Linked DNA regions of Homo sapiens: region 2 is linked to region 1. Evidence: promoter capture Hi-C in 16 types of primary human blood cells and fetal thymus (Javierre and others, 2016). All regions are on one chromosome and are shown on one strand. The core of a region is centred on a gene start or on the middle of the fragment in contact, and the rest is flanking DNA. Distances in the headings are between cores, read along the strand shown. Region 1 holds the start of SPICE1 (spindle and centriole associated protein 1). Region 2 overlaps SIDT1 (SID1 transmembrane family member 1).

Evidence for each region. The method cuts DNA at HindIII sites, captures the fragments that hold promoters and counts their contacts. A CHiCAGO score of 5 or more calls a contact.
Region 2: a contact is called between a fragment that was not itself captured here and the fragment with the promoter of SPICE1 in region 1, in 1 of 17 cell types (M0 macrophages). The highest score is 7.5, in M0 macrophages.

What each region holds. Positions count from the first base shown.
Region 1 is chr3:113,510,319-113,517,784 of GRCh38, forward strand. It overlaps SPICE1 (spindle and centriole associated protein 1), which reads right to left and starts at 4,838. Exons shown (of 18, transcript NM_144718.4): 1 at 4,579-4,838. SPICE1-CFAP44 (SPICE1-CFAP44 readthrough (NMD candidate)) reads right to left here and starts at 4,838. Exons shown (of 52, transcript NR_183050.1): 1 at 4,579-4,838. RefSeq lists enhancers at 4,525-4,644, 4,705-4,754, 5,461-5,510, 6,021-6,070, 6,131-6,180. The HindIII fragment of the contact is 3,693 bases long and covers 3,694-7,386 here.
Region 2 is chr3:113,623,769-113,631,234 of GRCh38, forward strand. SIDT1 (SID1 transmembrane family member 1) reads left to right here. Exons shown (of 25, transcript NM_017699.3): 24 at 2,334-2,447; 25 at 3,878-5,807. The coding sequence ends at 3,940. Among named protein-coding and RNA genes, the nearest start is that of MIR4446, 33 kb to the left of the region's middle. RefSeq lists a silencer at 3,186-3,285. The HindIII fragment of the contact is 1,099 bases long and covers 2,114-3,212 here.

The DNA.
Region 1 (7,466 bases), core at 3,588-6,087:
TCCTAAACAAAAAGAACAAAGTTGGAGGCATCATGCTACCCTACTTCAAACTATACTACAAGGCTACAGTAACCAAAACAGCATGGTACTGCTACAAAAGCAGACATATAGACCAACGGAACAGAATGGAGAACTCAAAAATAAGACTGCACATCTACAACCATCTGATCATCAACAAACCTGACAAAAACAAGCAATGGGGAAAGGATTCCCTACTTAATAGTGTTGGGAGAACTGGTGAGCCATATGCAGAAAATTGAAACGGGACCCCTTCCTTACACCATAGACAAAAATCAACTCAGGATAATTAAAGGCTTAAATGTAAAACCCAAAACTATAAAAACCCTAGAAGAAAATCTAAGCAATACCATTCAGCACATACACACAGGCAAAGATTTCATGATGAAAATGTCAAAAGCAATTGTAACGAAAGCAAAACTTAACAAATGGAATCCAATTAAACTAAAGAGCTTCTGCACAGCAAAAGAAATTATCATCAGAGCAAACAGACAACCTACAAAATGAGAGAAAAATTTTGCAATCTCTCCATCTGACAAAGGGCTAATATCCAGAGTCTACAAGGAACTTAAATTGACAAAAAAACAAACAACCCCATTAATAAGTGGGCAAAGGACATGAACACAAACTTCTCAAAAGAAGACATTTATGCAGCCAACAAACGTATGAAAAAAAGTCAACATCACTGATCGTTAGAGAAATGCAAATCAAAACTACAGTGAGATACCATCTCATGCCAGTCAGAATGGCGATTATTAAAAAGTCAAGAAACAACACATGCTGGCAAGACTGTGGAGAAATAGGAACAATTTTACACTGTTGGTGGAAATGCAAATTAGTTCAACCATTGTGGAAGACAGTGTGGCGATTCCTCAAAGACCTAGAACCAGAAATACCATTTGACCCAGCAATCACATTTCTGCATATATACCCAAAGGAAAATAAATCATTCAATTATAAAGATACACACACATATATGTTCACTGCAGCACTATTCACAATAGCAAAGAGATGGAATCAACCCAAATGCCCATCATTGATAGACTGAATAAAGAAATGTGGTACATATAAACCATGGAATACTATAAAGCCATAAAAAGGAATGAGATCATGTCCTTTGCAGGGGCATGGATGGAACTGGAAGCCATTACACTTGGCAAACGAATGCAGGAACAGAAAATCAAACACCACATGTACTCACTTATAAGTGGGTGCTGAACAATGAGAACACATGGACACAGGGAGGGGAGCAACACACACTGGGGCCTGTCAGATGGCAGGGGGATGCAGGGAGACAGAGCATCAGGAAAAATAGCTAATGCACGCTAGATTTAATACCTAGGTGATGGGTTGATAGATGCAGCAAACCACTATGGCACACGTTTACCTATGAAACAAACCTGCACATACCGCACGTGTACCCTAGAACTTGAAACAAAATTTAAAAATATTAAGAATATTAAAATTCAAAAAAAATGAAAAATGAGGCTTAGAGAAAGTATATAGCTCAAAGTTATACAAATAATAACAGGCAGAGCCAAGAGCTGACACTCAAGACCAGGTCTGACTGACTGTAAAGCACATGCTGGAAAACTTTGCCAGAATTGGGTTACCTCTGTTTGCTTTTATATTTCCCAAATTTTCTATAATGGACCTATGTTACTCTTAAAAATGGGGGGAAAAGTATTTCAAGTTACATTTAGAATATTTTACTTATTCAGAAGCTAAAACTCCAGATGAGAATGCATACTGGCCAACGACTTGATTACAGCTTTGGAAGACCCTAAGCAAAGAATCTAACTAAGCCATGTCCAAACTCACAACCCACAGAAATTGTGAAATGATAAATAGTAATTGTTTTAGGCCACTAAATCTGTGGTAATTTACTACCTGTGTACAGTAGGATAACACAGGTATAGTTAAGCTGCTATCCCATCTTTGCCCTTCTCTTGCCATCCAGCTTCATGAAAAGGTACACTTTAGCACCTGTATTTACTAATCCTTAGTTCTACCTCCAAGTTTTATTAATTACAAAAACTCTGACCCCACCTTTGCACTGAAAAGCTTTCTTTTTTTTTTTTTTTTTTTTTTGAGACGGAGTCTTGCTCTGTTACCAGGCTGGAGTGCAGTGGCACGACCTCAGCTCACTGCAACCTCCACCTCCCGGGTTCAAGCGATTCTCCTCCCTCAGCCTCCTGAATAGCTGGGATTACAGGCGCTTGCCACCATGCCCGGCTAACTTTTGTATTTTTAGTAGAAACGGGGTTTCACCATGTTGGTCAGGCTGGTCTCGAACTCCTGATCTCGTGATCTACCTGCCTTGGCCTCCCAAAGTGCTGGGATTACAGGCGTGAGCCACCACACCTGGCCTCTTCTATTCTTTTCTCCTTTTCTTCACAGGCTCTATTGTCCTCCTCCACACAAACAATTTAATCAAGGATTTCCACCCAGTTCTATCTCAGTTCTCATTCTTCTTGTCTTTCCATTAGATACCCTCTCCTTTCATTCAATAATTATTTGGGGGAGTGCAGCACACACCAGGCACTGGCTAGGCATTAGAGATACAAGTAAACAAGTAAACTAAGTAAACTAAATAAACTAAGATATTAGTAAACAAGTCTAATATGGTGCCAGCTCTCATGGAGCTGCTTTCTTGATCACAAAGGGGCAGTTCACATCCTCCCTCAGTGACCTCACCAACTCCCTTGAGCAAAGCTATGAATGTATGGACAAACAAACACACTGTGAAAATGAGTCCCAAATCAATGATTCACACCTTTCCTCAAAACTTCAAACACAGTGGCTCGCATCTGTAATCCCAGCAACTCGGGAGGCTGAGGCTGGAGGATCGCTTGAGGCAGGAAGCTCAAGACCAGCCTGTGCAACATAGCAAGACCCTGTCTCTAAAAAAAAAATTTTTTTTAATTAGCCAGGAGTGGCAGTGAGTGCCTATAGTTTCAGCTACTCAGGAGGCTGAGGTGGGAGGACTGCTTGAGCCCAGGAATTGGAGGCTGCAGTGAGCTACGATGGCGCCCCTGCACTCCAGCCTAGGTGACAAAGTGAGGCTCTGTCTCTTAAAATAAACAAACAAAAACAAAACAAAAACACCAAATGCTCATTTCTAACTACCTACTATATACATCTCCCAAATATCACAAATACAGTATATCAAAATACAGCTCATCATCATACCCCAAATCTCTACTTGCTGATATATAACTGGTTGACTCGATAAATATGTTCAATTAAGCTGAATTTACAGAATTACAATCCTAGTTGCTCCAATTTAAAACCTCAGCATCACCTCTGTTCCTTATCTCTTAGTGAATCAGATAACAGAATCTATTAACTTTTTCCCTAAAAATCTCTCTTGCCCGCTCTTCTCCATCTCTACTAAAAATATTTTTGTTCAGGCTCTCATTATTCTAATTAGTCTCCCTTTCACTCTTCACTCACTGACTTCATCATCCATCTATTAATGTAACTAATATTTTGAAGCACCATCTAAAAGCGAGGCACCAGATATAACAAGAAAGTAGAATAGTCTATGCCCTTGCAGAGTTAAGAGTTTCTAAGAGGACCGCAATTAAACAAGTATTTACAACAAAAGGGCAGCATGGGAAGTAAATTCTGTGTGCCATGAAAGTACCTAACTAACTCTATGCAGTAAGTAAAAGCTTCTCCTCTCTGTAATACCCCCAAAAATGTTTGCACTGAGAGCTAAAATACGAATAAAAGTTAGAAGCAGGGGAAAGAATATTCCAGGCAAGGGAAAATGCATTTACGAAGAGTTTGAGAAGTTCAGTTCAATTAACAAAGATCTGAGAGGGTGAGAGGTTAAAGGAAGAAAGGCAGACAGCAGATTGTAGTCTTGTGAGCCACAGCAATCTGAACACCTAAGACCATAGGAAACCACTGAAGAATTTTAAAAGGGATAGTTATGACTGGACTTAGTAAATCCACTCTGACTGGTGTGGAAAACTGATCAAAGAGAAACAAGAACTCTTTCCAAACACTGTTGAATCAATCCTACCTAAATACATGGATAGAGAATAGATCTGAACCCTTTACCTACTTCCTCTAGATTCGGATGGCTCCCCACTGTCAAAAGCAATCCAACTCAGCTTGGCATTCAGACCCTCTCCCCCATATGGCCCGGCTGACTTTTCTTTCCAGTGTTCTCTCACATCTCCCGCAAATCCTAAAACCAAGCTCTCGCCTCACACACAGTTGCAACCATTCTTTTCCCTCTGCTTGGAACACTCATTAGGCTCACTCTCTTCTCTACTGGGTTAACTTCCACGGACTCCTCAAAACTCACAGGAGGAGCCTTCTGAGAAGCCCCTCTGACATCCATCGATTTAAATGACGCTCCCGGTCCCAAAGCACCCTGGATAGTTTGCCTCTCTCCTGCTACACGGTGAACTCCCCCAACGCTACAATCGAGCACCCCCAATTACCAGCTCTGTGCAAAAGCTCCCGAAAGCGGTGCGCACGCGCATACTCGAGGTGCTCTGGCGCCACGCACAAACATACCCAGACACGCACCCTGACACGTACTTGCACTCTCAAAACACAGAGCCGCGGCTGCGCTTCCTGAAGTAAGGATTCCCCAACCGGGCGCCTGGATCCCAGGCAACAGACAGATGCCACCACCGTTCTCCCCACCCTTTTGGTAGCCCTGGTCCCTAAGGCTCGTTGGGACTGCGAGCTGCAAGCCTCAGATCCATCATCTCAACCTGCCTTGCAGTCGGTCCCGACTGCCGCCGCCACCGCAGCTAAAACTTCAGGCGCCGGAACCGCGGAGCGCGCCACAGGTTAACCCAGCCAGCGGCTTCCGGGCTGTTGCCTGGGTTACCAGAGCTCCGCCCCACGCCCTTGCGTATATCCGGCGAGCCCAGTGCGCAGGCGCCTCCCAAAGCCTATCTCGGGTCCTGAGTCTAAGGGAGAGAGGTTCCTCTGCAAGGTTCAGGGCAAATTATTAAAGAATAGGTATATAGCAGGCCGGGCGCGGTGGCTGACGCCTGTAATCCCAGCACTTTGGGAGGCCGAGGCAGGCGGATCACGAGGTCAGGAGATCGAGACCATCCTGGCTAACACGGTGAAACCCCGTCTCTACTAAAAATACAAAAAATTACCCGGGCCAGGTGGCGGGCGCCTGTAGTCCCAGCTACTCGGGAGGCTGAGGCAGGAGAATGGCGTGAACCTGGGAGGTGGAGGTTGCAGTGAGCCGACATGGCGCCACTGCAGTCCGGCCTGGGCGAAAGAGCGAGACTCCGTCTCAAAAAAAAAAAAAAAAAAAAAAGAATAGGCATATAGCATTAGCCGGTGCCTCGAGAATTCTCCAAAAGAAAGATGTTGCTCTCCTCACCAGACTTCACATATCACTTAATTTGCTTTCATCTCTATTCATTTGTTTACAAATCTTTAGTAGTGGAATCCCAGCACTTTTGGAGACAGAAGCAGAAGGATTGCTTAAGCTCAGGAGTTTGAGACAAGCATGGGCAAGATGGCGAAACCCCGTCTCTACGAAAAATTAAAAAATTAGCTGGGCGTGGGAACACGCCTGTAGTTCCAGCTACTCAGGAAGCTGAGGTGCGAGGATCGCTTGAGCCAAGGAGGGCAAAGCTGTAGTGAGCCACAGTCATACCACTTCACTCCAGCCTGGACGACAAAGCAAGACCTTGTCTCAAAAAAAAAAAAAAAAGTTGTTTATTACAACCTACAAATGTGCGGGAGAGCTAGGTTCTATGGGGCTAAAAACAGGCAAGGTGGGAAACTTACAGCATATTAACAGACAGTTATCAATGACAAAAACATTAAAATTATGACGAGTGCTAAGAAGGAAGCACTCTAACCAAATACTTAGCTTATTATTATAGTAATATTTGAATTACTCAGGAAAGCTCAGACATGAATAGGCCAGTGGGGAAGGGGAAAGCATTCCTGCAGAGGGAGCTGCATGTGCAAAGATGTGGAAAATGCAAGGGACAGGAAGAGGTCCAGTGTGTCTGAAGTTTAGAGAACAGTGGGAACTTGCTGTGAAGGGGAGGCGCCCTGATAGGCTGGATCCACGACAGTCAGAGCTGCGTGGACCACGTTAAGAACTTTACAAAGCACTTGATTCAAAAACAGAGTTTATTTGCTCTGGTAAGACAATTTCCTCTAGCCCCTTGCTTTCTGCTGTTACAATACACCCATGTGTGGTCTGCAAATACATGCCCAAAACCTTCTAGAGGAAAGGTACTGCCTTTAATAGTTTTCACTCTGATTGAGGAAGTTTGATGTAGATATATTTAATAATCAACAATCATCCACTTGCTTGCATCCTCAACTCCCTGCCCCTCTCTAAATTGCTGTAATCACTTGGCAAAATGACCATATTAGCCATCCCTACTTTACACTTACTAAGTGCTTGCACCCATGCAGCTGAATCTGAAAAAAAACACCCAATCATGCTGACTTTAAATTCATGATTACTGATGTTAAGTAGGACCTTAAAGATGCTTGAACATCTCATTACAGGTCCCTGTTCATTGATTTTCCTACATATTAGTTTTATACCTTCATTCATACCCAATGCCTTGTCTCCTATCCTCATTCTCACACAATGACCTTGCTTCCTACTGCATTGATTACACTGAATTATTCAAAAGAGAACTTCCCTAAGCTCCCATCATTATTTTAATCCTTCTGTCACTATCTTTACCCACAGACCTGCCTTCAGAAGCTCAGCATAAGAAATATGAAGAAAGCTAATCAAAATACTTCATAATCAAATTGCTCAGAACGAGTGATAAAAGAATCTTAAAAGCATCCAAGGAAAAAAATACATGTCGTATACAGCAGAACAAAACTAAGGATTACATCAGTTTCTCATTAGAATCAAAACAAGCAAGAAGACAGAATAACAGTTCAAACATATTCAAAGAAAAAAAGCTATCAACCTAGAATCCTTATACTATTCCTTTTTTTTTTTTTTTTAAGACAAAGTCTCACTCTGTCACCCAGGCTGGAGTGCAGTGGCACGATCTCGGCTCACTGCAACCTCCACCTCCCAGGTTCAAACAATTCTCCTGCCTTAGCCTCCGGAGTAACTGGGACTACAGGAACACACCACCATACTCAGCTAATTTTTGTATTTTTAATAGAGACGGGGTTTCTCCATGTTGGTCAGGCTAGTCTTGAATTCCTGACCTCAGGTGATCTGCCCGCCTTGGCCTCCCAAAGTGCTGGGATTACAGGTGTGAGTCACCGCGCCTGACCCTTATACTATTCCTGATACCACTTAAAGGTAGACTATGATAAAATAAAGATGTATACTATAAACCCTAAAGCCGCCACTAAATAATAAAAGTTATTGTTAAAAGCTTACAAAAGTCATGTAAAGGATAACGAAACAAATACTTGATTAATCTAAAAGTATAAAACAAGAAAAAACAAAGAAA
Region 2 (7,466 bases), core at 1,413-3,912, 110 kb after region 1:
TCTCTCCAACTTGCCATTTTGGCCTTTCTACCTCCCTCTCTTAATGTGTTTTCACAGTGTCTAAAATGAAAGTTTTCTCTACCAGGGATGGTTTTTAATAGCCGCACACAAATGCACAATAACTGCATGCGTTATCATTCTCAGGGTGGCACTTTATAAATCTGTAAGTACTACAGACATTGCAAACTTGGTCTTCATTGCATGTTGTATTACGACGCTGGTCCCAGTGGATGCTTAACGCGGTCAAAAGCCTTGAGTAGTTCATCTTCTCATCTTTCTCATAATCTCCATCCATCAACAAATACCCAAGCTGAGTGTCATTACATCCAGTCCATAGATAACAGAGCCGAAGCCTAGGAAATTAGTGGTATATCTGAGGCACAGAACAGGAAGAAGTCTTAGCATTCCATCAGAACAGTTACCACAATAGATTTTAGAACATTTCTGTCACTCCGGAAAGAAACCTCATATGCATCAGCATTCACTCCTCATTTCTCGCTAACCCCTTACCCCTAAGCAACTACTAAATCTACCTTTTGTCTCTGTATATTTGCTTATTCTGGACATTTCATGTAAATGGAATCACACAATACACGGCCTTTGTGTCTGGCTTCTTTCACTTAATGTGTCCTAGGTTCAAGCATGCTGTAACATACATAGTACTTCATGTCTATTCATTGCTGAAAAATATTCCGTTGTACTGATATATCACATTTTATCTACCTGCTCATCAGTTGATGGACAGTTGGATTGTTTCTATTTTTGTGTCATTATGAGTGATGCTGCTGTGAATATTTGTGTACAAGTTTTTTCCTTGAGGTAAAATATACATATAAAATTTACCATCGTTACCATTTTAAAATGTGCAGTTCAGTGGTCATAAATACATGTATATTCTTTGGTTTTTCCCCTCATCTCCCTCTCCCCCCACCCTTCCTGGACTCTGGTAACCACCAAACTATTCTCTGTCTTCACGGGATCCACTTTTCTAGCTGCCTCATATGAGTGAGAACATGCAATATTTGTCATTTTGTGCTTCACTTATTTCACTTAACATAATGGCCTCGAGTTCCATACGTGTTGCTGCAAATGGCAGGATTTTATTCTTTTTTATGGCTGAATAGTATTTTATTGTGTTTGTAGGTGTATGTACATTGTCTATGTAGATATGTGTATCATATTGTCTTTGTCCATACCTCTGTTGATGGGCACTTAGATCGATTCCATATTTTGCCTATTGTGAACAGTGCTGTAATAAACATGGGAGTGCAGATAACTCTTTGACATACTGATTTCTTTTCTTTTGGATATATATCAAGTAGTAGAATTGCTGGATCATATGGTAGCTCTATTTTTTTCTTTCTTTCTTTTTTTTGGGGGGGCGGGGGGACGGGGTCTCCCTCTGTCTCCCAGGCTGGAGTGCAATGGCGCAATCTCGGCTCACTGCAACCTCCACCTCCCAGGTTCAAGTGATTCTCCTGCCTCACCCTCCTGAGTAGCTGGGACTACAGGCGCCCACCACCGTGCCCAGCTAATTTTTTTGTATTTTTAGTAGAGACGGGGTTTCACCATGTTGGCCAGGCTGGTCTCAAACTCCTGACCTTAGGCGATCCACCTGCCTCTGCCTCCCATGGTCCTGGGATTACAGGTGTGAGCCACCACACCCGGCCATAGCTCTATTTTTAGTTTTTTGAGGAACTTCCAAACTGTTCTCCACAGTGGCTGTACTAATTTACATTCCCACCAACAGTGTGTGAGAGTTCCCTTTCCTCCACATCCTCGCCAGCATCTGTTATTGCCTGTCTTTTTGATACGAGCCTTTTTAACAGGGGTAAGATGATATCTCATTGTAGTTTTGATTTGCATTCTCTGATGATCAATGATGTTGAGCACCTTTTCATATGCCTGTTTGCCATTTGTATGTCTTCTTTTGAGAAATGTCTATTCAGATCTTTTGCCCATTTTTAAATTGGATTTTTTTTCCCTTACAGTTCTTTCAGCTCCTTATATATTCTGGTTATTAATTTCTTGTCAGATGGATAGTTTGCAAATATTTTCTCCCATTCTGTGGGTTGTCTCTTCACTTTGTTCGTCATTTCCTTTGCTGTGCAGAAGCTTCGTAGCTTGATGTAATCTCGCTTCTCTATTTTTGCTTTGGTTGCCTGTGCTTTTGAGGTCTTTGTGTACAGGTTTTTGTGTGGATGGATGTTTTCTTGGAAGCTAACTTTTCGAACCAGACATCTAGTAGCGTTTTTGTGGCTTTCTGGACGTTCAACTCTTTGAACAGTTGAACTGTGGGAATCTTGCCCATGTCCTGCCTCACCTTCCTCCAGGGAACTCCGGCCGAATCCCGGGAGAAGAACCGCGAGTGCATTCTGCTGGATTTCTTCGATGACCATGACATCTGGCACTTCCTCTCTGCTACTGCTCTGTTTTTCTCATTCTTGGTGAGTTCATATCTATCTTTTTGTGACTTTCTTCTCTCTTTACATCTTGTACTCTCTTTTTCTTCTGCTCTTCCTTACTTTTTTTTATATTCCTCTCTAATTTTACTTTCCATTTCCTCCTTGTAATTCAATGTACAGACCATCTTATTTCTTTCATAAATTTTATATCCTTTGGTTAGATCTTTAGTTTTTCTTTTACTCTTCAATATCTTTAGACACAGAGGGACAAAATTACTTTCCCTAAGTTGCACAGCACGTTTGTTCTGAATTGGTTATTAGACCCACATGCCCAGAATTCCCCCAGGAACCACTTTTAGCAATTCCGATAACATTGGGTTATTCCTTCTTATGCCATACTCACATTCCTCCTCCTCCTCCTCCTCCTCCAGTCTCCCTGAATATTTCACAAATATTTTACATATTCCTTAAGTGGCTTGGGGTAGCAGCCACGTGTCTGTTGCCTTCTGACCAGTCTGTCCCAAATCTCTCCTGTAGTTTCTCTATTTTTTTGCCCCAACCCTTTCTCAGAAGCCATGAGTATTTATATCAACCCTGGATTATAGTTCCATCCTTTAATCCTAACTTTGATTTTTCCCAATTAAAAGTCCATGGTGCCTGTAGGCAGGTTCAATTGACAATTAACAACCCTACTAGACTCCCGGGCTCCAGACCTACTAGATGCCCGGGCTCCACGCAAAGCGGGCTCAGGCAGGCCATATGACTTCAAGAGTGGAGCAGGGCTATCCTCTAGTGGCCAGTTTGGGAAGCTTGGCCAATCTGTATAAACAGTCCTTACGTCTTTTACTTTTGATCGTCACCTTCATGAGAGAGACAGAGACAGCAAAAGTGGAACTAAAGATTCCACGTGGGGCAGTAGTAGTCAAATGAACTAGAAATGGAGGAGGAGGGTACATTTCTTATATAGCAATACTCTATCCAACAGGACTTTATTCCTTTGACTCTTGACCTAAATGTCCCCTAAGTAATGACTTCCCAGGCCACCCTATCAAAATTTTTTACCTCCCCACACCTGATACTTCCTGTATTTCCTCCCTTATTTAACTTCTATCCTTAGCACTTATTACTATCTAACATGCTATATTTTACTCATGTATTTGTTTCACGTCTAAAGCCCTCTTTAGAATGTAAGCTACATGGAGAATAGGGATTTTTGTCTCTTTCATTACCAACTATATCTCCATAGCATCTGGAATAGCACATCATAAACCTTCATGAATATTTAATTGACAAATGAATTGTATAATTATAATAAGTGCCTATTAAGAGCAAAGGATTGCAGAGAGCTGCAGAAGGCATGAGAATGAGAGGGAACTAACAGTTTCCAGTCTGTGTGCATCTCAGAGAGAAAACAGGACTTAGTGTGACAGTGACTGTCCATTCCTTTCATTTCTCTGTCCCTCTCACTTCAGGTTTTGTTAACTTTGGATGATGACCTTGATGTGGTTCGGAGAGACCAGATCCCTGTCTTCTGAACCTCCAACATTAAGAGAGGGGAGGGAGCGATCAATCTTGGTGCTGTTTCACAAAAATTACAGTGACCACAGCAAAGTAACCACTGCCAGATGCTCCACTCACCCTCTGTAGAGCCAACTCTGCATTCACACAGGAAGGAGAGGGGCTGCGGGAGATTTAAACCTGCAAGAAAGGAGGCAGAAGGGGAGCCATGTTTTGAGGACAGACGCAAACCTGAGGAGCTGAGAAACACTTGCTCCTTCCATCTGCAGCTTTGGGAGTGCAACAGGGATAGGCACTGCATCCAAGTCAACTCACCATCTTGGGGTCCCTCCCACCCTCACGGAGACTTGCCAGCAATGGCAGAATGCTGCTGCACACTTCCCTCCAGTTGTCACCCTGCCCAGAAAGGCCAGCAGCTTGGACTTCCTGCCCAGAAACTGTGTTGGCCCCCTTCACACCTCTGCAACACCTGCTGCTCCAGCAAGAGGATGTGATTCTTTAGAATATGGCGGGGAGGTGACCCCAGGCCCTGCCCTACTGGGATAGATGTTTTAATGGCACCAGCTAGTCACCTCCCAGAAGAAACTCTGTATATTTCCCCCAGGTTTCTGATGCCATCAGAAGGGCTCAGGAGTGGGGTTTGTCACACATTCCTCTTAACAAGTAACTGTCACTGGGACCGAGTCCTGGGTGCTTACATATTCCTTCGTGTCTTCATCTCACTGACCTGTGTGGACCTCATCACTCTGACTCTGCCTTCTTGGAAAGGCCCTGTCACTCCACAGATGTCTGGCCAGCTTCAAGGCAGAAGGAAAAACAGGAAAAGCTCTTTTAACAGCAGCAGGAACAAGAGAAATGACTAACCATACTAAAAGACTGGTAACAGCAGCAGCAGCCAGACAGGCCTCACCTTAAGGACTTGGGCTGCCAGAGCAAATTCAGCAGAGCTTATTTGGCCTCCCATTCACACAGCTCAGTTCTGTGCCCACATCACCTTTGGGGAAGAAATCAGCATTCTAATCAGGGACACTACTTCAGGAGTCCTCCACAGCGAGTCCGTCATCTGTCACTTTATGTAGATCAGGGTTCTAGACTTCTTCCCTGAGGTTCTCAGAAGCAGCTCTCAGGATGAACGTATTGTCCTCTTCCCCTCTTCTTGCAAAGTGCACAGCTAATCTAATGTTGTCTCTCGGTTGCACCTGACATTCTCTCCCCAGTAAGGTGTTGGCAAGCTCAGCATCTGGGTTCCACTCTCACACTGTCTGGCAGCTCTGTGTCTGAGAAGTTCTACATTGACCAGGCCCCCTTGTTGCCTGGAGTATGACGTAATCAGAAAATAGACGTATAAATGTGCACATGCGTATGTATTTGCTTGTGAAATTAAAGTCACCTCTTGCCTCTGCTTTCCTGATCATTCGTTAGAGAAATGGATCAGGCATTTTTTTAAATTATTATTCTTTCTCTAAACTATTTGCATTGTGTTCAAAAACCCATTTTAGAAGTTTGAACAGCAAGCTTTTCCTGATTTTAAAAACACAAAGTTGCTTTCAATGAAATATTTTGTGATTTTTTTAAAGTCCCCAAATGTGTACTTAGCCTTCTGTTATTCCTTATTCTTTAAGCAGTGTTGGCTTCCATTGACCATATGAAGGCCACCAATTAAATGGTTGTGTTAATCCAACATGTAAAAAACTTTTTGGCAGGGCACAGTGGCTCACGCCTGTAATCCCAACACTTTGGGAGGCTGAGGCAGGAGGATCACTTGAGCCCAGGAGATTGACGCCGCAGTGAACTATGATTGTGCCCCTGCACTCCAGCCTGGATGACAGAGTGAGACCCCATCTCTTAAAAAATAAAAAAAAATAAAAATTTGAACCTGTTTCACTATGGCTAGTTTGACCTAATTTCTTTATCTTAACGCACTATGGTTTCTAATCCACAGAAGACCAAGGGAGGAAATGTGAACAACAAAGTCCATTCAAGTCGCCCTGTGGCTGAAGCGAATAAATTTTCAGATGCATAACCTGTTTGGTAGCTTGTTTGGGAAGATGTGAGCGGAAATGGGGAAAGGGCCCTGGAGGAAAGGGTGGACTGTGCTGCTGAAGCCTTCACTGTTTTCTGATCACGTCTGTCTTGTGCTACAAACGCACACACTGTGGTCAGTTTTGTTCCTGCAACAGTACCGAAAATCCAGACCAAGCTTGTTTTTACAAATATCAGTTCTAAATGTACATGTTGCTAATTCTTTCCACAGCGCCAGTCTCACGGTTGGAGGACATAAAGTCATTCAGCTGCATCTGTAGGATTTACACAAGGGCTGGGGCAGAGGGGAGCACAGAGAGCTTAAAGAGCTTAACGAGCCATTTCTGTAGGACAGTGTCTATGCTAACTCTTGCCTGGGTTCATGGACTTCACTCTTTAAAAGGGAAAGGAAGAGTGACTGAGAAAGCCGGGTTCAACAGGAGCGTAACCGGAGAAAAGCAGTCACTGTGAAGAGGCTCTTGGCAAAGTAAGCACAGAAGTAATAAGAGCAGTTCAGCTGGAGCAGGACAGAGGTGTAGCAGCCAGAGAAGCAAAGCTGTGCACATAAAAAATGACCTCTTCACACCCCTGACAAATGCTGGAGAAGCAGCCCCACCTCTTTATGCTCCACGGTTTACTGAGGGATTCGCCCGGTTTTATTTTAGCAGCAGGAGAAGCCAGTGGAATGCTGGACTCTATCTGGGGAAGGGACTTTCCATGACTGAAGGAGGTCACCGAGCCAGCTCCTCGGGGCAAAGAAAATGGCAGCTCCTCTCTTCGTAACTCCAGGCACCCACCAGAAGGTTCTGTGGGGTCACAACATGCATGTGTCGGTAAATCAAATACCCAAATCCTCCTCAATATGGGTGATAGTCTCTATCCAAAACTCATGGGAAAGGGAGGAACAAAGATAAACACTATTCACAGAAGGAACAGTACAATCTGCGGAAGATTCTGGAGTCCACCTACTCGCTATGTGCCCTTGGGGAAGTGACTGAAACTCTCAGATCCTCAGCTGGCACACCTCCATGATTCTACGTGAGAATGGCAAAGGTGGAGGTGTGCAGGGTACCAGGAGCAGTGCTCACGCAGACAGGATCCTCAGCTCACCCTCCTGAATCCCACAGGGAGGCAGGGCAAGAGTGGATCCATCAGCCAGTCTGGGATCTCTCTCCTCCAGGGGCTCTTCATTGAAACCAACTGTTTCGTTTCCTGTCCTCAGCTCCAGGCCCTGAACAGGTTGGGAGGCCTCTTCATCTTCAGAGACACTGCCCACAGCTGTTCAGCCTCTTCTCATCCCTACCCCCATCCTTGTCCTTTGTAGCTGCATTTCTCTGACTCTGGCCCTGAATATCCTTATTCCAACTGAGATGAAAAAAAAATGCTTCCAAAGCTAGGGCCAAGTGGGAAAGCCTGGCTGTTTATAATGTGACACCTCATCACTGCTGTCTCTGCCCTGGGAATCTCAAGAAAAACCTAGGTTTTCTCCTCTCAAGTAGCTATTACAACCCTATTTCAGGG